Regions from separate parts of the Homo sapiens genome. Here all the other regions are linked to region 2. Evidence: promoter capture Hi-C in 16 types of primary human blood cells and fetal thymus (Javierre and others, 2016). All regions are on one chromosome and are shown on one strand. The core of a region is centred on a gene start or on the middle of the fragment in contact, and the rest is flanking DNA. Distances in the headings are between cores, read along the strand shown. Region 1 overlaps EXOC1 (exocyst complex component 1). Region 2 holds the start of SRD5A3 (steroid 5 alpha-reductase 3). Region 3 overlaps KIT (KIT proto-oncogene, receptor tyrosine kinase). Region 4 overlaps EXOC1 (exocyst complex component 1). Region 5 overlaps KIT (KIT proto-oncogene, receptor tyrosine kinase).

What was found. Contacts are between HindIII fragments. The CHiCAGO score rates a contact against its expected background, and 5 or more counts as called.
Region 1: a fragment that was not itself captured here is called in contact with the fragment with the promoter of SRD5A3 in region 2 in 8 of 17 cell types (naive CD8 T cells, naive CD4 T cells, naive B cells and 5 more); the score reaches 9.0 in naive CD8 T cells.
Region 3: a fragment that was not itself captured here is called in contact with the fragment with the promoter of SRD5A3 in region 2 in 1 of 17 cell types (M2 macrophages); the score reaches 7.3 in M2 macrophages.
Region 4: a contact is called between a fragment that was not itself captured here and the fragment with the promoter of SRD5A3 in region 2, in 3 of 17 cell types (total CD8 T cells, naive CD4 T cells and activated CD4 T cells). The highest score is 6.9, in total CD8 T cells.
Region 5: a fragment that was not itself captured here is called in contact with the fragment with the promoter of SRD5A3 in region 2 in 1 of 17 cell types (M2 macrophages); the score reaches 6.4 in M2 macrophages.

Annotation. Positions count from the first base shown.
Region 1 is chr4:55,860,986-55,866,109 of GRCh38, reverse strand. It overlaps EXOC1 (exocyst complex component 1), which reads right to left. Exons shown (of 19, transcript NM_001024924.2): 4 at 1,724-1,883. Among named protein-coding and RNA genes, the nearest start is that of EXOC1, 9.9 kb to the right of the region's middle. RefSeq lists an enhancer at 4,850-5,124. The HindIII fragment of the contact is 4,502 bases long and covers 475-4,976 here.
Region 2 is chr4:55,344,960-55,349,476 of GRCh38, reverse strand. It overlaps SRD5A3 (steroid 5 alpha-reductase 3), which reads right to left and starts at 3,235. Exons shown (of 5, transcript NM_024592.5): 1 at 2,920-3,235. The coding sequence starts at 3,140. RefSeq lists silencers at 2,653-2,922, 3,133-3,302 and an enhancer at 2,754-3,514. The HindIII fragment of the contact is 3,550 bases long and covers 730-4,279 here.
Region 3 is chr4:54,680,790-54,685,421 of GRCh38, reverse strand. The region is part of intron 1 of KIT (KIT proto-oncogene, receptor tyrosine kinase); the gene reads right to left. Among named protein-coding and RNA genes, the nearest start is that of KIT, 25 kb to the right of the region's middle. The HindIII fragment of the contact is 2,878 bases long and covers 1,789-4,632 here.
Region 4 is chr4:55,878,474-55,883,296 of GRCh38, reverse strand. The region is part of intron 9 of EXOC1 (exocyst complex component 1); the gene reads right to left. Among named protein-coding and RNA genes, the nearest start is that of EXOC1, 27 kb to the right of the region's middle. The HindIII fragment of the contact is 2,200 bases long and covers 463-2,662 here.
Region 5 is chr4:54,660,532-54,665,381 of GRCh38, reverse strand. The region is part of intron 1 of KIT (KIT proto-oncogene, receptor tyrosine kinase); the gene reads right to left. Among named protein-coding and RNA genes, the nearest start is that of KIT, 5.0 kb to the right of the region's middle. The HindIII fragment of the contact is 558 bases long and covers 1,511-2,068 here.

The DNA.
Region 1 (5,124 bases), core at 1,476-3,975, 520 kb before region 2:
ACATCACTCAAAACTTAGAGACATTTTTTTTTAATGGGAATTAAAGGCTGTAATTTCAAGGTCCATAAAACAAGTTTGTAGACATTAATGAAGCTATTCCCTGAACTCCACTAAACCAAAGCAAGAGTTACTGACGTATATAGCAAGTGATTTTCAAAATGAGATCCTTAAGGATCTTCTCAGTATTCTTAAAATCGATCTCAGTTAGGGTTAATGTTTATACACATGAACGTGTCTATACTCTTGTTTTATGGCCTGAAAAATTGAATGCCTTTTTTTTTTTAAGTTAGACACTTCATTTTCAAAAACAGTAATACTCTTCTCACTGATTTTGGTAGTATTTCTTAATGAGGCAGATCCAGGTAGGGTATGTATTTTTCTATATGACTGTCCTGAAATATACTGGTTTAAAATCACCTTACACAATAAATAACATCTGGAAATGCATAATATTTGAAGACAGAACAGCAAGCTTGTGAATCACTGAATCACTGACTCATCAGAATGTTCAACCCTGAAATGTTAAAAAAAATAAAAGCCATTCGAAGCAAATTAAACCACGATTCAAGGCATGAAAAGTTACCATAAATTTCTTGAAGGTCATTCCCTCTACACACTCAATTACCAAGATGTTGGGGACTAGTGTTGGTGAGATGGCAACCCTGGGGATTCCTACATAAGACCAGCACTACTGGTGGCTGACATATGTGACTTGTTTCTGCCAGTGCCAAGCATCAAGCCTAAAATCAGCAGCAGGCTCACTGATTACTAAGTGCTATCTTACAATGTTTGTATCTTTAGGAAAGAAATTTTAAAAGTAGAGAAAATCTCATATTTTCACTAATTAATGGTAGAGTTTTTGTCTTGTAACACAAAATGATGCATAGTAACATTCCTGAAGATATACTGATCAAAAATATTCTAATAATCTTCATGTCTAAGGATTTTATACTGGTAACATAATAATAGCTAATATTTACTGAGCACTTACTATGTACCTGGCACTGTTCTTACTATGTTCATATATTAAGTAATTTAATCCTCATAACAACCCTATGAGGTAGATACTATTATTATCTCTAGTTCTGAGATAAGGGAAACTGAAACATAGAGAGTAAGTATCAATGCAAAGTCATATAGCTAGTTAGTGGCAAAGCCAGGATTTGAACCCAAGAAGTCTGACTTCAGAGCTATGTTCTTAACCACTACATCTACCCTCTGTACAAAAATACTGCTACAAGGGTATTTATCCCAGAGCTGTTTAAAAGAAGCAAAGATTGGAAAATTAAAAAATAAATGATTAGTTAAATAAACATGGTATATCCATATAATGGAATACTATGGTGCTACTGAAAATAATGTTGGGGTAAGTATTCAACAACATGAAAAATGTTCATGATACATTATATGAAAAAGTATGTTAGAAAACATAATGTAAATTTCTTTATCTTAAAAAGGTGTTTATGCATAGGAAAAAGACTAGACGAATATCTAACAAAGTGCTAACAGTAGTTATTGCTGAAGAATAAGTGGTTTTTATTTATTTATCATAATGTATTAATATTCTACAATAAACAAGCATAATTTCTGCAATAAGAAAAATTATTTTAAAGTTCTTTTACGATAAGATAATTCAGTATTCTAATTAATTTGAATGATGTCAAATTATATATTCACTTAAAGATATAATTGATTTTACATATACATTTTTATTTAACTTTACCTTCCAAAAGCTGTGAGCTAACATTGACAAAATCAATTTTCTTCCGGAGATATCGCTGATTCAATTTCCAAATGCATGAAATAAATGCATTCTTTTCAGCAGTGCTGCTGGCAACCCATTTATATATTTTTTCAAAGTGTAAATCAAATTCAGGATTTTCCTAAAATAAAAATATACAAAAGATATTATTTTTGATCACATCCTTTTACATTGTTAATGTAAAATCTGCATAGGCATTTACGCTGTTTTTGGAAAATGAAGAGTATTAAAAATCAGCTAAGCAACTGGAAAGGAAGAGTTTGGAGAATTCAATTTATAGCAAAAAGTTTACCACCCCAAAGGAGCTGGATGAAAAAACAACATACTGTTGTGGTCATTTTCTTCCTATGCCCTTTAGGTCTATGAGTAGAAGTATAGGATGCATTAATGGCTTTGTGGCTTAGCTTCCTCATCAGTAAGATGACAATGGTCTCTAGCTTTGACATGGACCTAATTTTTCTTTTTAAATTGCCTATAGAGTTTTAGTTATACATTTTCTTTAATAATGTACTACTATTTGAAACTGTAATTGGACACTAACTCCCTAATAAGGACTATATCTTCTAAGTATAAAACTTGAGAAAAATGCAATGTATATCCTGGTGTACTTTCTAAGAACAAGTGAGGTGAAAAGCAGAGATTGCGCCTAATTATTTTCTATTTTGAAAATAAGGAATGATTAAAGATATCTTGAAAGCTAAAAGTGCTGCTAGGTCTCAAAGTTCTTTATTTTTTTGAGACAGGGTCTCACTTTGTTGCCAAGGCTACAATGCAGTGGTGCAATCATGGTTCACTGCAGCCTCCACCTCCTGGGCTCAGGCAATCCTCCCAACCTCAGCCTCCTGAGTAGCTGGGGACACGGACACATACCAGCATGCCTAATTTTTAAAATGTTCTTGTAGAGACAAGATCTCCCCATGTTATCCAGTTGATCCTCCTGCTTCGGCCTCCCAAAGTGCTGGAATTACAGGCATGAGCCCTGTTCCTGGCCTAACGTTCTTTCATGTGATAAAGAAGCTCAACCAATCTGAGAGAATTACACTATAGTTTCTTCAAGTCTCTTAAGCCACATTATAGCAATAATCCACATCAGGCTAATATTTCTCCCTTGAATGAATAGAACTACTTGACTATTATATAAAAAAACAGGCTGGGCTTGGTAGCTCACGCCTGTAATCCTAGCACTTTGGGAGGCCGAGGTGGGTAGATTGCTTGAACCCAGGAATTTGAGACTGGCCTGGGCAACATGGCAAAACACTTCTCTACAAAAAACACAAAAATTAGCCGGGTGTAGTGGCATGTACGTGTAGTCCCAGCTACTCGGGAGGCTAAGGTGGGAGGATGGCTTGAGCCCGGAAGGTGGAGGCTGCAGTGAGCCAAGATTGTGCCACCGCACTCCAGCCTGGGTGACAGAGTGAGACCCTGTCTCAAAACAAACAAGCAGACAAACAAACAAACAAACTTATGGATGTATACTTCACATCCAAGGAATTAAAAAATAGGCTCAAATATTCTTAATGTTCTACAGGGTAAAAGAATAATAATATATTTGATTCATTTAAAGTGTTATTTGGGGGAAATGTAAATACATTAAAGTAAGGGAAGTTATATCAGACTTTCACTGTGAAGAACTGGAGTATCTCAGGAATCAGGACTTGACCTTTGGTACAACAATCATATTACAGCAGCATGGAACTACTAATTAGTTCAATTTATAGCTTAATAAACAGAATTGAAGCGTCAAAAATTTAAAACCTGCATATACAATGAAAAGGTAATTGCATTATTACTTACAAAAAAACACAACAAGAGTATTGGCAACCAATATGAAACTTGATGGGAAATAATCTCTTCCCTGGGAATATTTCCCATAATACCATAAAAGAAGCTGAGTGCTCCAGTGGCAACACTCACAAATCAATGTGTGATACTAAATGGCTAATGTTAAGTTATGTATAAAAATTTTATGTTTTATATCCATATATAGCATACACACACCAAGGTGCCTACATAAAATGCAAAAAAAAAAAATCCATTAAGCAAGTCTGCAAGAGGCATCAGCTGTGAGAATGCATTCAAATAAGCATTCAGCAATGTTACTGAATTATGCAAGTCAACAGGGTTACGAAGTGCAAAACTACTGAAGGGAAAAATGTTTTTTAATAAAGGTGCAGTTTTAAAAACCCTTAAAGTGTTTTGTCTTAACAGAAAACAACCAGAAAAGTTTCCACTCTTGATCCCTCCCCATGGTAATAAAAATTACTTACAGAAGTTTTTTTTTGTTTTTTTTTGTGGAGACAGAGTCTCACTCTGTTGCCCAGGCTGGAGTGCAGTGGCGCAATCTCGGCTCACTGCAACCTCTGCCTCTCAGGTTCAAGCAATTCTCTTGCCTCAGCCTCCCAAGAAGCTGGGACTACAGGCGTGTGCCGCCACGCCCAGCTAATTTTTTGTATTTTAGTAGAGACAGGGTTTCACTGTGTTACCCAGGCTGGTCTTGAACTCCTGAGCTCAGGCAATCCACCAGCCTCGGCCTCCCAAAGTGTTAGGATTACAGGCGTGAGCCACCACGCCTGGCCTAAATTATTTTTAAACATCCCATTATAATTTTCTTTCCAATCTCTAGCTTTCTAAATTTCTGTCAAATCCTGTTTCTACATTTCACATTTTTCTAAGCATTGGGTGCTCCTTAGGGATAAAACAAAGGGCCAGTAAGCCTAGAATACTTAAAGAAAAGGCATGATTTACATTTGGAAGAAATCTGAATTATACAGATATAGAGGGCTCTCCTCAAATTGTTCTTACTTCATTTTTTTTGCACCCAACTCAACTACCTGTCATTTTGTCCAGATTTTTGATCCTTGGAGGTTTGTACCAAAGTAAGGGTAAAATCAGAATTTTATTTTAACAGATTGCTTTACACAGGCAGTTTTTTTGTTTTTTGTTGTTTTTACTTTGTGCCTTTTTAGTAAATGTATGAGATTTGTAGAGTCAAAGAGCACCTGTAGTTTCACTAGTATAAGCCTTGCTATTATGTTCATCCCATCGACATACAAGTAGTTGTGGTACAAAGTATTCTCTTGTGCTATGGAGGTGTGTTAGGGCTGCAGAGAAAGATGAAGGGCAGAGTGAGAGAGGGCCAGGGGGAGGAAGCACCTAATTTAATCAAAGGAGGCCAACTTGATTGCTTTGAAAAAAGGGTATTGCTGTGAAAGCTTTGAACTGTCAGGAACATAGGTGGTCCTTTAATGTGATTATCACATTAATCACCTTTCTTGGAGTTTGAGTGTGGTTTATCTATAACGTGTAAGTTTATATCTTCATAGATCTTATTATCTACATTCCTTAAAATAAGGTATGTAACC
Region 2 (4,517 bases), core at 1,986-4,485:
TTGCCTCCGTAGGAAAGAAAAAAATAATCCCAAACAAAATTACCTACATACTGCCTTATTTGCAGAAATGGGATTTACAACTGCCTATTTCTAACTGTAGCAATTATGAACTTATTTTCATTTTTAAGAGTACTGCTAGAGGGCCGGGTGCAGTGGCTCATGCCTGTAATCCCAGCATTTTGGGAGGCCAAGGTGGGTGGATCACTTGAGGTCACGAGTTCAAGACCAGCCTAGCCAAAATGTTGAAACCCCGTCTCCACTAAAAAATACAAAAATTAGCCAGGCATGGTGGTGTGCACCTCTAGTCCCAGCTACTCAGGAGACTGAGGGAGGAGAATTGCTTGAACCCAGGAGGCAGAGGTTGCAGTGAGCTAAGACTGAGCCACTACGTTCCAGCCTGGGCGACAGAGCGAGACTCCATCTCAAAAAAACAAAACAAAAGAGTACTACTAGATTTTGCACAGGAAAAATATTCACATATAAGTATCAAGGTTAACGTTACCAAATGATTTTAAATTTGGATTAACCAAGATATTTACTAAATGCTACCATCTGGGATAAATCCATTCTCACTTAATCTTTCACACAGATTGAGCTTCACATGGTACAAGATATTTCCCACGAAGTATACCAGAGGATAAGAGCTTGGGATTTAAATTCCAACAGGCAGGGTTCAGGTACCACCCTTGCTAGTACTAGCATCACTGCACAACTGCTATCTTCTAAGCTTGAGTCTGCATGTGTGTAAATGGGAATAATGACAATAACATCTCCCTCACAGGTCCACTGTGAGGATTAAATGAGGAAAGGCACGTACTCCTTAGTAGTCATCACATAATCATATATGTAAACATTTAGTCAATGGTGGTTACTATTTATAAACCAGTAAAATCTCTCCCACATGCTCCTTAGCCATTAGCACATTTTTTTAAATGATAAAAGTGATAAGCATCTTGTGAATGAAGACATTTTGGAAAATACAGAGACGTATAAAAAAGAGGCCATAGACTCTTACCTCCACCCAACTCTAATTATCTGCCTATTTCATATAAACAGGGGTATAAAATTTAAAAAGAGAGTAATACATGTATTAATTTTTTGGAGACACTGCCAGTTTTGATGCAAGTTATCTTTTTTTTGTCACAATAAAAATGCCTTTCATTATTGGTCTGGATGTTTTGTACCTTCTCCAGTACTAAAAGAAATGTCTGTTTAAATTTAGAGAAGGAGGGGAAGGGCACTTGAACACTATGGGAGGTTCTACTGTAGAATTCTGGAAGAAGAAAAAGGTGTAAATTATTTCACAATAGAGTAGAAATTACAGGAAGTCCAAACAGAACCAACTGTTACAGTAATGAATAAGGAAAAGGTACCAAGTCTCTTTCTTGGCTGTCATGTAATAACAGACTTGAGTTGCAACAGCTGGGGTGTATGCAAGTTCAGGGGATGATTTTACATGTGCCATTTAATCCAGGTACACTAGACTAGTACCTTTCTCAAAACTCAGAAAATAAATTGCTGTGAAGTATAAAAGGATTCAACCCTGATTACAAATGGGATAACAGGTAATTTTTGCTTAAAAAGAGCCTCTAGGAAACAGGAGGTTTGATCAATTTGTTTCATGTACTTCTACTTCTTCCCTTTAGGGTGCCTCAGAATGACCTAGTTCTCCCTTCTCTGTGTTAACACATGACACATCTTTCTCTGACAGTCAAAATTCGCAGATTATCCAAGTTTTAGAAGCCAAATTATACTTGTCCCTTTGTTGCCTGCGGACCTGGGGCACTGCCTATGAGTGTTTCAAGCGACAACCCAGATGTTTTTAACCTTTAAAAAAAAATTTTTTTTAAATACAAGGTATTTCTCTGTTGCCCAGGCTAGAGTGCAGTGCCATGATTATAGCCCACTGCAGTCTCCAATGCCTGATCTCAGATGATCTTCCTGCCTTCATTCCAAGTAGCTGGCACTACAGGCACACGCCACCAAGCCCTGCCAATTTTTTGTATTTTCAGGAGAGACGGAGTCTCACTATATTTCCCAGCCTGGTCTCGAACTCCTGAACTCAAGCGATCCGCCTGCCTCAGCCTCCTAAAGTGCTGGGATTACAGGCGTGAGCCACTGCGCCCGGCCTAAGATGCATCTTAAGGGGCACTGTTCTATTTCTACCATCTCGAATAGTATTTGGCCAACTCTTTCCAGCTATGTCCTGAATTTAAAGTGGAAAAAGGAGAAGAAGAAAATTATAACAGGTCTCTATTTAAAACCTGACGATTTAATCCTTCGCTGAACTGGGTTACAGAATTTTTCGAAAGTCAAATGGAGCTTCGGGACGGGCCTGCCTATGACCTGCACCTTGGGCCACCTTCCCCAGGGGCACCTGCCAAGGTGCAGGTTAGGGCGACTCAGTCCTTTGTCCCCACTGCAAGGGTTGGGAAGAGAAACGGGGGAAGCCGAGGCCGAAGAGCCGGCCTAACTTCATTTCCACAAATGATTCCCGGTGACCTCAAGTTAGAGTATGAGCCACTGGAGTGCAGGGTACGGGAAAAAGGAGAATTTGGGGCAAGGGGCACTTCAATTTGCCGCCTAAATTCGCATGACCAGGCCTAAATTCGGATGCGTTGCCATTTCCCACAGGGAAAGGCTCCGTGCGGCTACCAGTTCACATTCCTCCAGCTGAGTGCAAGCGGCTCCGCTCTCCCTCGGCGTCCGCGGACACCCGGGCACTGCTCCCCGGAGCCACGCAGCAGCCGGGGCATGGCCGGGGCCAGGCCGAGGGAGCGCCGTGCTGCGCCCGGGAACCCGCCAGGGCCTCCCAGGCCGGGTCCCGCCTCTGCTGCCCCCTGCTGGCTGCCCGCGAGCCGGGGCGCCCCGAACTCTCAGCGCCTTGACCACCGCGGCTCGGGACCGGGGCGCGGTTACCTCTTGGGGACATCAAAGGCTCGGCAGGCGGCGGGGCGCGACGGCTCCCCACACTTGGTTTTCCCATAGCGGATCAGGTCCTGGAAGATCGCGCAGCCCGGGAGCAGGCCGGGCGGCAGGAGCTGCAGCAGTAGGGTCAGCAGGAAGGCGGCGGTCAGCGTGAGCCACACCGCGCGCAGCGGGTTCAGCGCCGAGTGCTCGGCCTCCGCCCAGGGAGCCATGGCCCGCGTGCCCGCCTTCCGCGCTGCTGGCGCCCCCACCGCCCGCTAGCCCGCGGAAGAGCGGCCACTAGCGCGCGGCGCACCGGTCTCAGCCTAGCGGGACGTCGGTGACGCGGCGCGGGGCGGGGACGCGCAGAGCCCCTCCCGGACTCGCCGCTCAGCCGCGGAGGTCCTTGGTCCTGGTCGCGCTGGCGCTGGGTGGTCGCTCGCAGTCCCTAATCTGGGCATGGGGATTCTTAGATGGAGCTCCAGAATATGATTCATCAGAAGCAAAGACGCAAAACAGACGAGACCACGTGTCTGCCACTCTTATCAACATTATCTCCAAAGCAAAAAATGGAAACCTTACATGTTGCATTTTAGTTTATTTAGCTAAATTATGATACACTGACATGTTAGAATATCATGCAGTCATTGAGAATTATTATGACGAGTGTAGAAACAGGGAAAGCTGTTTAGGAAACAATATGTGAAGTGAAAAACAAAACCAACCATAAAAATACATAGCTATGATTGCAAACAACTATATTAATATGAATGTGTGTATATATGGATAAAGAAGGCAGATCACACCCAAAAATGAATAATTATGTTAGGATGCTGGAAATGTGTTGGATATGTGTATAATGTAAACATGTAGACAAGTAATTGCACATAATAATAAAAATCATAGTGGTAAAAACTGTGTTTAAAAAACAGCAGTCGCTTACCAATAGGGTTCCAATCCTTAGAAGCAAAGTTTTTAAATTCCATCAGCTGTTTCCTGTAACATTTATCTCAGGTAGTGACAATGCTATTTATTGACTCACTGATTTTAAACAACACTGATTTTATTTACTATAAGTGAAAATCTAGCTCTTTTAAGTATTTAAAAGTCTTTAAAATGTTAATTCTGAAGTATTGTATGCCTACTGTATGACAGGCATCATTTTGGATACTGAGGACAGAGGGGTTTACAAGATAATTGTCACTGCTTATTTGGAGCTTACATTTTTGAGATTGGGTGGTGGGTGAGAAGTGGAAGAGGGGAGAGGTAGCCAACTCATCACCCTTACCCCAATGAGATACCCGATATGTGTGTTGAATAAACATCAGGGTGGGTAGGTTAGTGGGACTTTGGACTGTTAAATGAGCAAGCTTTTAAAGTTTTCTTCTTTGTGCAAAAGACACCTAAGGCTTTACCCGTCCTTTGACAGCCAGGTGATTAAGGATGGTTAAATTGGCATTCTAGCTAGGACAATGAGGCCTTATTGAGTGATCCTGGATCTCTTTTGCGGGAGTCACCCTTTCACTGTTTCTTTCTTTTCTTTTTTTTTTTTTTGAGATGGAGTCTCGCTTTGTCGCCCAGGCTGGAGTGCAGTGGCCTGATCTCTGCTC
Region 3 (4,632 bases), core at 1,978-4,477, 660 kb after region 2:
ACAGTGAAGAAGCAAGGAGAAAAATATCCCTGGTTTTGTCTTACATGATGGGGAGATGGGGTGCCAATAGATTGGAGGGGTAAAACAGATTTTGAGGCATTTGGCCCAGCAGGCAGCAGCAAAAAGGTTCTGGAAACTGGAGGCAGGAGGTGGGGTATATCCACAGATATACTCTGGAGTCTTACTGGCACACAGAGGGTGGTAGTGGTGTCCATGAAATCCCCCAGGGAGGGAGTGGAGACTACAAAGAACAGAGGGGCCAGGGAGAAATGACAAGGCCCAGGGTGGCTGAAGTAGGATAGAGATGACAATGACTCCACTGCTAAAGGAGAACCAGGAAATTCCAGATCAGACAGTGCACAGGGCCTTCTATAGAAGGTTGGTGCAAAAGTAATTGTGGTTTTTGCCATTACTTTGAATGGCAAAATAGATGGACACTAGAACCTCAGGACAAGGTAGTAGGTTGGGGAGCAGAGAAGGATGGGGAACCCACCCTCAAGTCTCCAGGGCACAGGACTGGCCACTGACAGCAGTGAGGAGAAACAATCATAGAACTCATACACTCATTAGCAATCCCAGCTGCATGTCGGAACCACCAGAGCTTTGCCCACAGTAGTCAAACCAGGATCTCTAGATGCAGGGCCTGGCAACTGGTACAGCAGAAGCAGGCCCGGCCATTGGTATGGCAGAAGTGGGACATGGAAGAAGGGAGCTTTGTCGTGCTGCCGGGGGAGCAGCAACTGTGGGGACTGGCTGGTGTCAGGGAGGAGTTTGGGGGAGGAGGTGGAGGGAGGACCCTCGGAGTCAGTGAGTGTGGGGGACAGTGCCTGATGGCAGCATGAAGACACAGGGTGCTTCCAGAAGGCTCAGAATGAAGAGTTGGGGAGATGAACATCCACAGAGGAAGATGGCAATAAAGAAAGAAGGAACTGAGGGGAGGGATAGCCAGAGGGATGACTAGAAGGGCTCCTAAGTTGACCTGCCCAGGAGCTGATGCATGTGTCCATAAGGTGCAGAAGCCCATTTTGGGCTCAAGCCCCCCTTTTTTTGGACCTACTCTTTTCAGGAGACTCTCAGTGGTACAAAGGAGCCCATGGTACATGTGGGTCCCACATTTCCAAGGACATGTGAGACGAAGTGTTTCCCAGGTTCGCCAAGGCTAGAGAGGGATGTCACACTGCACACAAAGGCACATCCTTTGCAGCGGAGGCAGTCAGGCTGCACCACCCCACCCCACCCCACCCCACCCACACACCTCTGTGTGGGCGTTCAACCTGGGTGGATTCACCTGTGGTTTGGGCCCTTCCTGCCTCTGCTACTGAGTAGTTTCCTCCTCAGGGCCAAGTCAGCCCTTCAGTTTTCTGCCTTAAACCACACGGACATAGTGCCAAGGTATCATTTGTGCCGATCCCACCTTTCCTGTAGCATTTTCATGTTCTGCTTTTCTGTCTTTTATTTTTGTGATCTCTGGGCAAATCAGACAGACTTCATTCTCTGCAATGAAGCATTTCCCCACTCAGATTCCTCAACATTGCCCAGCTGGGAGATTCATTTTAGTGCAACCCTCACCTTGACTCATTCCTTCCACCAGTTCCCAATTCACAAGCGTGCCACCTGGTGGCAAAAGAAGATGCCCTTGGGCTGCTTCTGCTTTTTGAACAGCACTCCCAAGATAGAGAACATGTTAAATGTTCTGTGTGCTTCTAAGGAAACTTACTAAGAGGACCCAGCAGCAACGACTCAAGCTTCCAGTGAGTGTGTTTTAGAGACAGGACATCTGTCAAAGCTTTTCTCAGGCTGGAGAAGACAAGCAAAATTATTAAATGTTTGGTGTCTGTTAAATATTTAATATTTGTATATATTAGATGAAATGTATAAATGCATACTTTTGCAGGTAGTTACACTTGGGTTTTGGGGGTTTTGTCTTCCCCACCCCCCCACCTTTTGGTGGAGAACGAGGTCTCACTATGTTGCCCAGGCAGATCTCGAACTCCTGGGCTCACGCTATTCTCCTGCCTCTGCCTTCCTAAGTGCTGGAATTACAGGTGTGAGCCACCGCGCCCGGCCATAACTGCATACTTTTGCTCTTAAGCAATTAGTGAAGGATGTGAAGGGGAAAATATATACTGGTAGAGACATAGCAGTTCTGGATTCTAAATCATTAGGCAAGTTACTTAGGTTCTCTAGGCCTTGTTTTTCTCATTTGACAAAGTAAAGAGTCTAAAGCCACTAACAATTCTAAGATCTGTAATTAAATGCTTAGAAGAAATAAATGCTGAGGTGATGGGATAACCCCAATTATCCTGATTTAATCATCCTACATTGTATGTTTGGAATTAAACACATAGGCCCCATCGGAAGGTTAAGACAGGCCGGGCACAGTAGCTCACACCTGTAATCCCAGCACTGTGGGAAGCTGAGGCGGGAGGATCACTTGAGACCAGGAGTTTGAGACCAGCATGGTCAATATGGTGAAACCCCGTCTCTACTAAAAATACAAAATTTAGCCAGGTGTGGTGTAGCATGCCTGTAATCCCAGCTACTCAGGAGGCTGAGGCACAAGAATCGTTTGAACCAGGGAGGCAGAGGTTGCAGTGAGCCGAGATTGCGTCACTGCACTCCAGCTCGGGTGACGGGGCGAGACTCTGTCTTCTAAAAAAAAAAAAAAAAACGGTCAAGACAAAGAAATATCGGCCGGGCGCAGTGGCTCACATCTGTAATCCCAGCACTTTGGGAGGCCGAGGCAGATGGATCACTTGAGGTTAGGAGTTCAAGACCAGTCTTGGCCAATATGCTGAAACCCTGTCTCTACTAAAAATACCAAAAAAATTAGCCGGATATGGTGACATGTGCCTGTAATCTCAGCTTAGGAGGCTGAGGGAGGAGGATCACTTGAACCTGGGAGGTGGAGGTTACAGTGAGCCAAGACTGTGCCACTTCACTCTAGCCTGGGAAATAGAGCAAGACTCCACCTCAAAAAAAAAAGAAAAAAAAGACAAAGAAATCTCTTACATTAATAAAAATTCAGTGCTTGGGCCAGGCACGGTGGCCCATGCCTTTAATCCCAGAAATTTGGGAGGTCAAGGCGGGAGGATTGCTTACCCAGGAGCTCAAGACCAGCTTGTGCAATGTGGCTAAACATCATCTCTGCAAAAAATACAAAAATTAGTCAGGCATGGTGGCATGTGCCTGTACTCCCAGCTCCTTGGGAGGCTAAGGTGGGAGGATCGCTTGAGCCCAGGAAGTTGAGGCTGCAGTGAGCTGTGATCGTGCCACTACACTCCAGCCTGGGAGACAAAGAGAGATCCAGTCTCAAAAAAAAAAAAAAAAAGAAAATTCAGTTCTTGTACATAGAAAGCACTCAAATGTTTGTGGCAAGAATGAATAGCAGTGATTCTCTTATAATATAAATATATAACTAAACATCTACTTTGTTTTTGTTTGTTTTTGAGATGGAGTCTCGCTTTCCCAGGCTGGAATGAAGTGGCACGATCTCGGCTCACTGCAACCTCCGCCACCATGCCCAGCTAATTTTTGTATTTTTAGTAGAGTCAGGTTTTCGCCACGTTGGCCAGGCTGATCTCGAACTCCTGGCCTCAGGTGATCCACCCGACTTGGCCTCTCAAAGTGCTAGGATTACAGGTGTGAGCCACCATGCCAGGCCTACTTTGTTTTTATACTACTCTTTGGACACAGAATTAGAATAAGGACCTAAACATGAAATTTGACTTACGGCTCTGACATCTTATAATTAACTATGAAGATGCAAGTATCATTCGACACTCAAAGACGGACCTTTCTCAGCTAATTATGTGGTCAGACTTCTCCTAGATACACACACCTTACCAGCAGCAAAGACCTTCATAGGACTACTTAATATATTCTCTTCTCACTCACTCATCCTAACAAAAATACAACCTAATGCTTGAGGAAAGACCTCCCCTTTTGATCTCAGAGACAGACTAAGAGGAAACCTTTCTCTGCCATTATGAAGTCAGTCTTTGGGGAGTTGGATAAGGTCTGGATGTGACAAGCAAAATATACTGGGATCCATCCCTGAGCAGAAAGGAGGAACTTTCTCATTTCCAGTGGGTTCTTCCCAACAGCCCAGCACAGTCCCCCGTTTCCCCGCACCCCCCACCCCATCCCCGCTGCCGTAAATATGTAGATTTCTGTGTTTTGATTTCTGGAAAGCACATATTGAAACATGAACCAGAAAAGCACTAAGGATTGGAATCCAATAAACACCAGAACAAGGCCCTCACCATCTGTGAAGTTTGGGGTCGGGGTAGCGAGCTCGTCCCTTCTTTGAACATTTTCTTCCTTCACTTAAAGAACAATTCAGAACAAAGTAAAAAGAAACAGGTCAAAAGAGCATGGCAAAGGTCAGCCACACTAGTCAAAGACTTCACCCCCCCAAGACCTAGGACATACAAAAGGGAGCCCTGGTGCAGTCTCACCTCCGAGCAGATCCTCCTGGCTGCACACTCCACAAACAGATGGGCATCACCAGATTCTTGCAACAAGATCCTGCAGGAGGACCTGACAAGTGCAAACTGCCTTCATGTTAGCACTGTCCTGGACAGGTGTGGGTGTGGGCGAGTGTGAGCTAGGCGCTCCAATATTCACTAA
Region 4 (4,823 bases), core at 313-2,812, 540 kb before region 2:
TAATTGCTCTTCCTCTATATTGTCATGTTGCTTTAAAAACAGACCAATAATAAATAGTGTCAATGGCACTTAAGAATATTTAGTTTCACTGAGCCTCTGCCAGCTTGGGATATTACTCCAAAATAGGTTATTTTCCATAAGAACTTCATTAGTATATCTTACAGTTTTCAAAATCAAGTAATTAATTTTCTTAAAACAGATTTGATTAATTCTCGCTTAAATAAAAACATTTTTGTATCCTTTGGCATACAAAAATCATTTCTTCATCATCTCTACTTATTATCACATAAAAATATACTCTCCAGAAGAGTTCCTCAACAGTGGGAGACTGTATATTTTTCCAAGTATGAAGTTAAATGCCACAAACAGAATTTGACTAAATTTAAATAAACCAGAAAATAAAATTTAAATAAAGCAGAAAAGTTGTACCTATTCTTTTAAGTTTATCATAAAATCTAAGCTTCAATTTCCTATATTATTTCAAATTAATGTGTCAATTTTTAGAACATGTTTACCTGCTTTAAAGATCAGGTATACCTTCCAAAAGGTACATGTTGTGTAAATATTTGTATATTGATTCACAGTTTACCATTGATTGTCTTAAAATATTTTATAGCTGTATTCTTATAAAATAGCATTTGGACCAAACATAATATATATAGATCCTGTCCTTTTTCAATTTGTATGCCATATACATTTTTCACATATCTCTGTATCTAATGTAAGAACAGTTAGTCAAATGGGCAATTATTTCCCATGATCTTTGTATAACTTTAAAAGCAAATATAAATTAAAATTCCTATTTCATTGGGATGTATTACTTTTTCAGTGGGACTCAAATGACTTAGATACCTTTTTTCCTGGCACTCAACAGAACTGACTGATAGGAAAGACCACAGGAAGGTTTTACTGTATCAGTGTCTCTCCAAAACTCTATGATGCCAGCCTGGGCAACATGGTGAAACCCTGTATCTACAGAAAATGCAAAATTAGCCGGGAGCGGTGGCACATGCCTGTAGTCCCAGCTACTCAGGAGGCTGAGGCAGAAGGACTGCTTGAGCCCAGGAAGTTGAGGCTGCAGTGAGCTGTGATCACATCACTGCATTCCAGCCTGGGTGTCAGAGTGAGACCCTGCCTAAAAAAACAAAAACGAAAACAAAAACAAAACAAAACACAATACAACAACAACAACAACAAAAACCCTATGGTAAGTTTTAAATTTTAAGATGGTACTTTAGAATGCTAGTTCACCATCTTCTCTACTGGCTCTCTGATTTTTTTTTCCTTCCACTCACCTCAGCTTCTCTGGCTGATTAAATCTGCCTTTCCTCACAGCAACCCTTGCCTCTAGTGTTTGGCTTTCGAGTAGCAAGCAGTGGAACCTGGGTCCGCTGTAGGGTCTCCATGGTTTACTTTTTCTTTATACAATGTGAAAGGAAAATAAATCTTGGGGCCCCAAAATCACTAAGTTATAGGGAAAAGTCAAGCTGGGAACTGCTTGGGCAAATCTGCCTCCCTTTCTATTCAAAGTCATTCTTCTGCTCACTGAGATAAATGCGTATCTGATTGGCTCCTTTGGAAAGGCTAATCAGAAACTCAAAGGAATGCAACCATTTGTTGCTTGTCTACCTATGATCTGGAAGCCCCCTCCCCACTTTGTTGTCCCACCTTTGCTTCAAGTTGTTTGGCCTTTCCAGACCAAACCAGTGTTCACCTTACATATACTGATTGACGTCCCATGTCTCCCTAAAATGTATAAAACCAAGGTGTGCTCGGACCACCTTGGGCACATGTCGTCAGGACCTCCTGAGGCTGTATCATGGGTGCGCATCCTTAACTTTGGCAAAATAAACTTCCTAAATTGACTGAGATCTTGTCTCAGACATTTGGGGTTCACAACAATAAGACAAATTCTACAAATGTAAAACTGAGGTGGAGAGAAGACATGTGAGTCATCTTCAAGTCAGACTGCCAATCTCAGGAGGCTATTAGGAGAGGAAAACTCCTTTCCTACCCAAGCATGGATGGACCATCTCTACTAACTACCCTACATGTATGACCCAGAGTTGCAGACGAAGGTAGCAGTCCCGGGAGGAGGGAATCTGGGCAGTCCAAGCTACAACTATTTTCTGTATACCAAAAAATGGGGCTTTGCTTAGATTCAGCCTCAGTACAGCTAGAGGCAGTGGCTAGTGATTCTTATTCCCAAAGAATTTTGAACAAGTTTTTCCTGTTCCTGCCAAAAAGTGTGAGCTGTGTAAACCTAACCAAGTGCAAATAGCTTTCTGAATTATGATTTCTTACTAAAGAAACACTGATTGGTCTGTTTCCTTCTTTTTTCTTCATTCCTTTCTTCTTCCTTAAAATTCCTGTTTTTGACAACTCTTCAGCAACCAAATTAGATGATGAGGTAAAAATACATAATCTGTGAAAAGCTCAAATCACAGGATGACGCAACATTCCTGGGAAAAAGTCAATTTCATTTAAAAAGCTCATTAATATTGTCAATCAAAAATATACTCTGAGCAGAGAATGATTCCATAAATCATTACTAGGTTGGCTCTAATCTTGTTTCTTCACTTTAAATTACATTCATGAATACTGCATTATATATAAAGATAGGGCAATAATACTCACTGGGAACACAATTAGGCAAAAAGCTTATTGATTACTTATTTGAATATTCACTAGGGGACAAAGCACTTGTTGGCACAAAACTCTTAAGGAAATATAATTTATGTTTAATTATTCAGAATATTAATCCTCCTAAAACTTCAAAAGGCAAAGAATTCCAGTAATGTAAATTTTTTCCTTAAGATATCTCCAAATCTGAATTCTGTTGAATGAAAACAAGACAAAAGAAAATATAACACAACAGTGGAGGTGTATAATGCTTAATATACTAATTCTGAGGAACTAAAATAATCTCACCTAAAATAGCTAGCCAGACAAGAAGTATATAAGCACCTCAGGAGATTTTTTTTTTTGAAAAGCATTTTTAAAATTATAATTTAAAAATATTATTTATTTTACTAAGGTTTATATCCCTTTTCTTATTATCTCAGTTTAGAAGTCCAAGAGCCAGATTTTACTTTAAATGGGCAAAGGCACTTCAAAGAGAAAATACATGAAAACTGATACATAAAAATGTCCTACTGTCAAATACGTAAACACAAATGCATGGATAGGAATACATAATTTGCCTCCTTCTTACTATCACACTTTTCATAAATCTCTACCTAACCCTTCTGCTTTCTTCTGAAGCATGACTCTAAGATACCAGATAGAAGTTGCTTTTATATTAGCAATTCCAATATTCTCATTCCACAGAGACAAAACATATCATTATTTCCAATTCTAGAACATCTTTTAGGGCCATATTGTCCATATAATTATTATTAATTATTAACACAGCTTATGCATTAGATTTCTTATTTTTAAACTTCATATTCACAAAAACTTACAGATAAAAGATTTTAGATGTTTCTCAGAGTATTTCAGAATTTTAATAAAATGGATCTTCAGCCAGGACTATCTAGAATACTATTAGCTATTTACGTATTTGACTAGATAGGTGGGAATTCGTTAGCTCTATTTTTTTAAAAAGGGATATGATGTCCAATTCCTAAACTAAAGATCAACAGCATAAATGCCAGAAAAGGACTGTCCCTATGGCTTCCTGCTACAATGGCTATTAAATCTAAGTCAGGCCATGTCATTCCATGGCTCAAAGTCTACCATCTCCCCTCCCTACCCTGCAATGTCATGCACAGTAAAAGACAAATCTTTGCATGGTCCACAATCCCTTCCAGATCCACCCTGCCCCCACCAGGGTCTGCCCCTGGCTCACAGTGCTCCTACCACACTGGCCTCCCTGCTCTGCAAGCACAATAGGAACGCTCTGCCTTAGGGCACTTGCACTGTGCCTGGAAAGCTCTCCTCTGGAAATCCTTATCCCACGCCCTTCTCCCAGTCCTGGCATTCCCTGCTTTATTTTCTCTAGAACACTCAGCAGCACCTTTTAACATACTATATAATTAACTTTTTTGTCTGTCTGTCTCCTCTAGAATACGTACTCTGAGAAGGCAAGTATTTGCCTGTTTCCTTCAATGCTGTATCTCTAAGTGCTTACAAGTGTTAGCACGTAATAGGTGCTCAATTCATTTACTGATTGAATATATGAATAAATGACTTTGCTCTTCCCCAAGTGCAGAATTTTAGTCAGCAGTATATACTACTGTTCTAAACTCCAAGCCCAGCAAGTTTGGCATCAACCTGTTCCTTCTGCTGTTGGAGTCTCTCTTTTGGTTTATATTCTCTATCTATTCCCAACACCATCTTCCTGGCTCAACACTTCATTTCGTCTGAATTATTACTTTAGGTTCTTAATTAAATTTCCCTCATTTAATCTTTTCCCATGCTTGAGGAATGCTGGTAGGTCCCATAGCTCATCTTTTTCAACATAATTTCTCACTGCCCTAGAATAGGAAATTTCTGCTTCGGTCACCCTTAACCTCATTGTTCTAGGACAAGCGTGTATTTTTCCCACCTTTGTCTGCACATCTCTCTCCCCATCCCTGGAATGCCCTTTCTCTTATTTCTGGTTTATTTAATTGCACTCATTATTTAAAATCAACTGAAGTCTGATATTGTCCATGAAGTTTCCCCCATGGTCTCGAGACAGAGATTTTCCTTGTCTATACTGCCACATGCTTAAAATTCATTTCCAGTTTAGTGTTTAATTTTTTGCTGATTGTTTTATGTATGATTCTTCCCAGTCAGATCTAAAGCGCATTAGAGTAGATGCTTATTAGGTAGGCCCC
Region 5 (4,850 bases), core at 540-3,039, 680 kb after region 2:
AACCCTCCTAAATAGTCTCCACGAAAAATCTCCCTTAGATACTTACATGCAAATGTTCATTACAGCATTGTTTGCAACCCAAATGTCCATCAAAGGAGGAACAGGTAAACAGAATGTGGTCTATACATACAATGGAATATTTTTCAGTCTTAAAAAGGAAGAAAATTCTGACTTATACTACAATAGGGGTGAACCTTGAGGATGTTACGGTATGTGAAATAAACCAGTCAAAAAACAGACAAATTCAGTATGGTTCTGCATTTGCGAGTTACCTGGAATAGTCAAATTCAGAGACAGAAAGTAGAATGGTGGTTGCCAGAAGCTGGGGGAAGGAGAGGGGAGCTGCTCTTCAATGGGTATAGAATTTCAGTTTTGCAAGATGAAAGTGTTCAACAGTATGAATGTACTTAACACTATTGAAATATACATTTAAAGATGATTAAGGTAGTAAATTTCATTTTATGTATGTTTTACTATTAAAAAAAAAAAAAACAGGCCAGGTGTGGTGGCTTACATCTGTAACCCCAGCATTTTGGGAGGCTGAGGCTGGGGGATCGCTTGAGCTCATAAGTTCGAGACTATTCTCTACAAAAATAGAAATAAAAAAATTAGCCGGTGTGGTGGCACACGCCTGGGGTCCCAGCTACTCAGGAGGCTGAGATGAGAGGATCACTTGAGTTCAGGAGGTGGAGGCTGCGGTGAACTATGATCGTGCCACTGCACTCCAGCCTGGCAACAGAGCAAGACCCTGTCTCATAAATAAATAAATAAATAAATAAATAAATAAATAAATAAATAATAAAAACAGACTCTCCCTTAGTCTTGGTTGCCCACAGCAAGGGAGTGTCCAAGTTTTAAGGCAGGGCTTGGCCTCTCGCTTCGTCAGACTATTGGAACAGGCTGGGGAGTATGTCTAATTGGACAGAATGGTGGAACAGGCAGCCCTGGACTAGTATGCAAAGCCTGGGGGGCCACTCCTGGGTCAAGTCCACCTTAGCCTTGACTTCAAAGCATTCTTCATAACCTAGACCAAACTCAGCACTAAATACACATTCCCTCCATGCTCCTTGAGGCTAGTAAGAGGAGTCTTACCTTCCCAGCCAATTCCCTACCCCCAGCCATCATACCAATAGAAAGGTTTGATAATCCTGAAGTAAGATCCTAATGCCTTGTTCCTTGTACTGTAGTTTTTTTCAGCTGAAGCCACAACTACACTGCCCTCTTCCTTTAAGGTTCAGAAATTAATCTCAAATATTATCTCCTATGTGGATGCTCTTACTGATTCCTGATCTCTATTACCTGCCCATCAAGATTTAAGCTCATCTCCTTGAAAATCCTGCCCAGAGCACTTTACACTTAAGAAAACCAAATTCTACTTCGAATCAGGGGCTGTGCTCTTGCCCTGGCCCTCCTCCACCCCCAGCCTGTAACGTAGGACCAAGGCATGGGGATTGATAAGCCTTTGTTAAACTGAATCCAAAATGTTTACTGACCATTTATGTTCAAAGCTTAGTGTAAGTGCTGGAGAATAGAAAAGATGTTAAACTAATACTTACTGAACACTAACCGCTGTGTCTAGCCTGGGGCAATGGACAAGTTCAGCTTGGTCCTTGAACTCCTAGTGAAAGCAGTCATGGAAAAGCTCCTTGACTGCTTTCATGGACCCTAGGTGAACTACATGTACTTATTCACCTACAGAAAATGGCCATTTGCAGACATTCCCCCAACCTAAACTTTTATCAAGAAATTTGTATCTCTTTTGGTGGAAAGTAACCCAAGAATACGGCTAAACAAAGAGCCAAGCAGATAAACATGCATTACCACTAATTAACAACTTCATCTTAATACGAAAAAAAAAAACCACTCTACATATTCTGTTTACACGTTTTCAATTTTTTTCTAAGAGGCAAAGCTGAAAGGGGAACATAAGAAAATCAGCCTGATAGTGGAGTCCACACACTTCCTCTATGCGGGGCACTATGCTAAGCATATTACATGCAGAATCTCATTTAATCCTCGCAGGGGCCCTATGTCATCATCTCCATTTTACAGATGAGGAAATGAAGCTTAAGGAGAGGTTAAGTGTCTTGTCCCAGAGCACACAGCAGGGAAGAGGCAGAACTGGAATAAAAATCCAGCGTGTCAATTTCAGAGCCCAAGCTCGTAATTAACTGATGCCACATGTCCTGAATAATAATTTGGCTTAAACCTTAAATTTTGCAAAAATGTTGAAAACCTGTCAGAAAGGTATGCATGGGAAGATGTCTAACAAAAGTGTGTCATAACCAAAATGTAAGCATGAAAGCTAAAACATAAGATGAATGGGAAAAGTACCAGACACAAATGTTATGTTGGAGAATCTTACAAGATGTGTAGTTTTTTTTTTTCCCCCCTGGAGAAAAAAAAAGTTCAAGATCTATTCAATCTCTAGGACTAGTGATTTCCTAACTCTTATCAAAAGCTAAATAAAACAAGACCAAAAAAATTAAAGCTTATTTTTAAAACTGTCGGCCAGGCATGGTGGCTCATGCCTGTAATCCTAGCACTTTGGGAGGCCGAGGCAGGTAGATCACCTGAGGTCAGGGGTTCGAGACCAGCCAGGCCAACATGGTGAAACCCCATCTCTACTAAAAGTACAAAAATTAGCCGAGCATGGTGGCGGGTGCCTGTAATCCCAGCTACTCAGGAGGCTGAGGCAGGAGAATCGCTTGAACCCAGGAGGTGGAGGTTGCAGTGAGACGAGATTGCGCCATTGCACTCCAGCCTGGGCAACAGGGCAAGATACTGTCTTTAAAACAAACAAAAAAAATGCCTTTCTAATCTTTAGGGCAATCATCTTAAAAGAGTAGGCATTATTCCCATTTTAGGGACAATAATAATTCCTGTTTTACAGACGATAATTATGGCTAACACATATTGAGCCTGTACTATGAGGCACCACTCTAAAAGTTTTACATGTAGCAACACATTTACTGGCACAGAGAGGTTAAGTAATCTGCCGAAAGTCACAGAGCTAATAAGTGGCAAAACTAGGATGGACAATGAAAGCTCAAAAAGGTTAAACAATTTGCTCTAAGGCCATCAAGCTGTCAGTCATGAAGCCATCAGACCAACACAAGGTAGGCCGGCCTGTCTCCTCCCACTTGTCATCTGCCTGGTCCCAGGGGCATATTTGGATTCCTGCACTCACCAGGGCCCAGTGGGGAATGCCTAAGGGATGGCAGGATAAAGCCCTAGAGCCTAATGCAACCTGAAGAGCACAGGCCTCATCTACAGGGGCCATGACCTTCAATTCTTAAAGAGGAGACAGAAATAGAGATCTTGATTTAAAAAAAATCTCTAGATTGTTTAATATCGCCTCAATGTTTTCTAAAAAGCATCATGTAGGCCAAAGAAAACATGTCTCCTCGGGCTATCAGATTACAACTGCTCTTTACTTATTAAGAGTCTTAGGTCAAAAGATGAGCTGTATGATCACATCCAAAAAATGTCAGAAATCAGAGCTGCTGGGCCAAGCCGACTCAACTCAATTCCTCTCTATGACTCAACTCAATTCCTCTCTAAGTACAACAAAGATTTACACTGGATTTGCCCTCCAGGCAAACTTTTACCTCCTCTAACTCTTCCCCAGGCCTTCTTCAATCCGGACTTATAGCTGTGGCAATATCTATTCAAGTTACCAAAACTGCACATGAAATTTGCATATTTGGATTCCTGCAAATGTCATTCAATCTCAACTTTTAAAAGTTACCGCACATTAATGCAGCAAAAGAAAGCATTTCCCACATCCTAGCCTGCCAACTCTTAAACTACATTCATTCTGAAGAAAAAGCTGCCACAGCCTTGACCACTACCTTGAAGGGGTCCCCACACTGCAGGCCAGCTCTGAGAATTCCGCTAGAGACACCGAGGTTCATTTCCTCGTGTCCTTCTTTAATCAGCTGGAAGAGACTTGAGGAAATGAGTCAAAACCCTAAGGGTAACTTCGAAGGGCTGTCAACAACAGCAGCAAAATTCATCACCACCACAACATCTGTACATAAATGTTCTCCAAGGGAAGCCCGCAGAATACTTGGCACATTTCTGATGAGAATTTCTTTTGGGAGAAAAAATGGCTTTGGATGGTAGATTGTCATTATTTCTCACCATGCTATCCAGGGTAAATAGCCAATGACATCAGCCATTATTGGGGGTGTTCTCTTTCACACCTATGCACAAGACCATTTTTATGTTTTGGAGTGGGAGATGGATTTTTAACTGGCTTGCATCATCCTTTTAGAAACAGCTTACCTTCATTTCTGAGGGACGCTAACTGGAATGAGATAGCTAACAACTAAGCCAACATACCACAGGGTCAAATGCCTACAGCCCTTCCTCCAAGCTAAAATTTAATTAATCCTCCCTCCACAAATAATCCGCTTTCATAAGACACGCAATTCTAAATATTTTTCACCAAAATTGGGAAGGTAGTGACATTGGCCATCCTGTATTCCCAGAACTTCCAACAATCCCTGGCACATAGTAAAAACTCATTAAATATTTTTGAATGAGTCTTACAACAGATTCTGGTGAATCATGTGAATGGCTATAGAGCTGGGCACATGCAGCCAATCTCATCAGGCTTCACCACTGATGATTTAGGGCTTATCCTTAGCCAGTTTCTCCAGCTGTAAAATGTTAGGGGTAATAATAGTACTACTTCCTAGGCTCATTGAGACTACTAGAAATAGGTAAAGCCCCAAGCAAAAGGCCTGGCACACAGTTTCCAACTGAAGAGCAACAACTATGTACACCACACATGTCATACGAAACTTAAGGCCCATTAGAAAGCATGCTATAAATGCATAGCA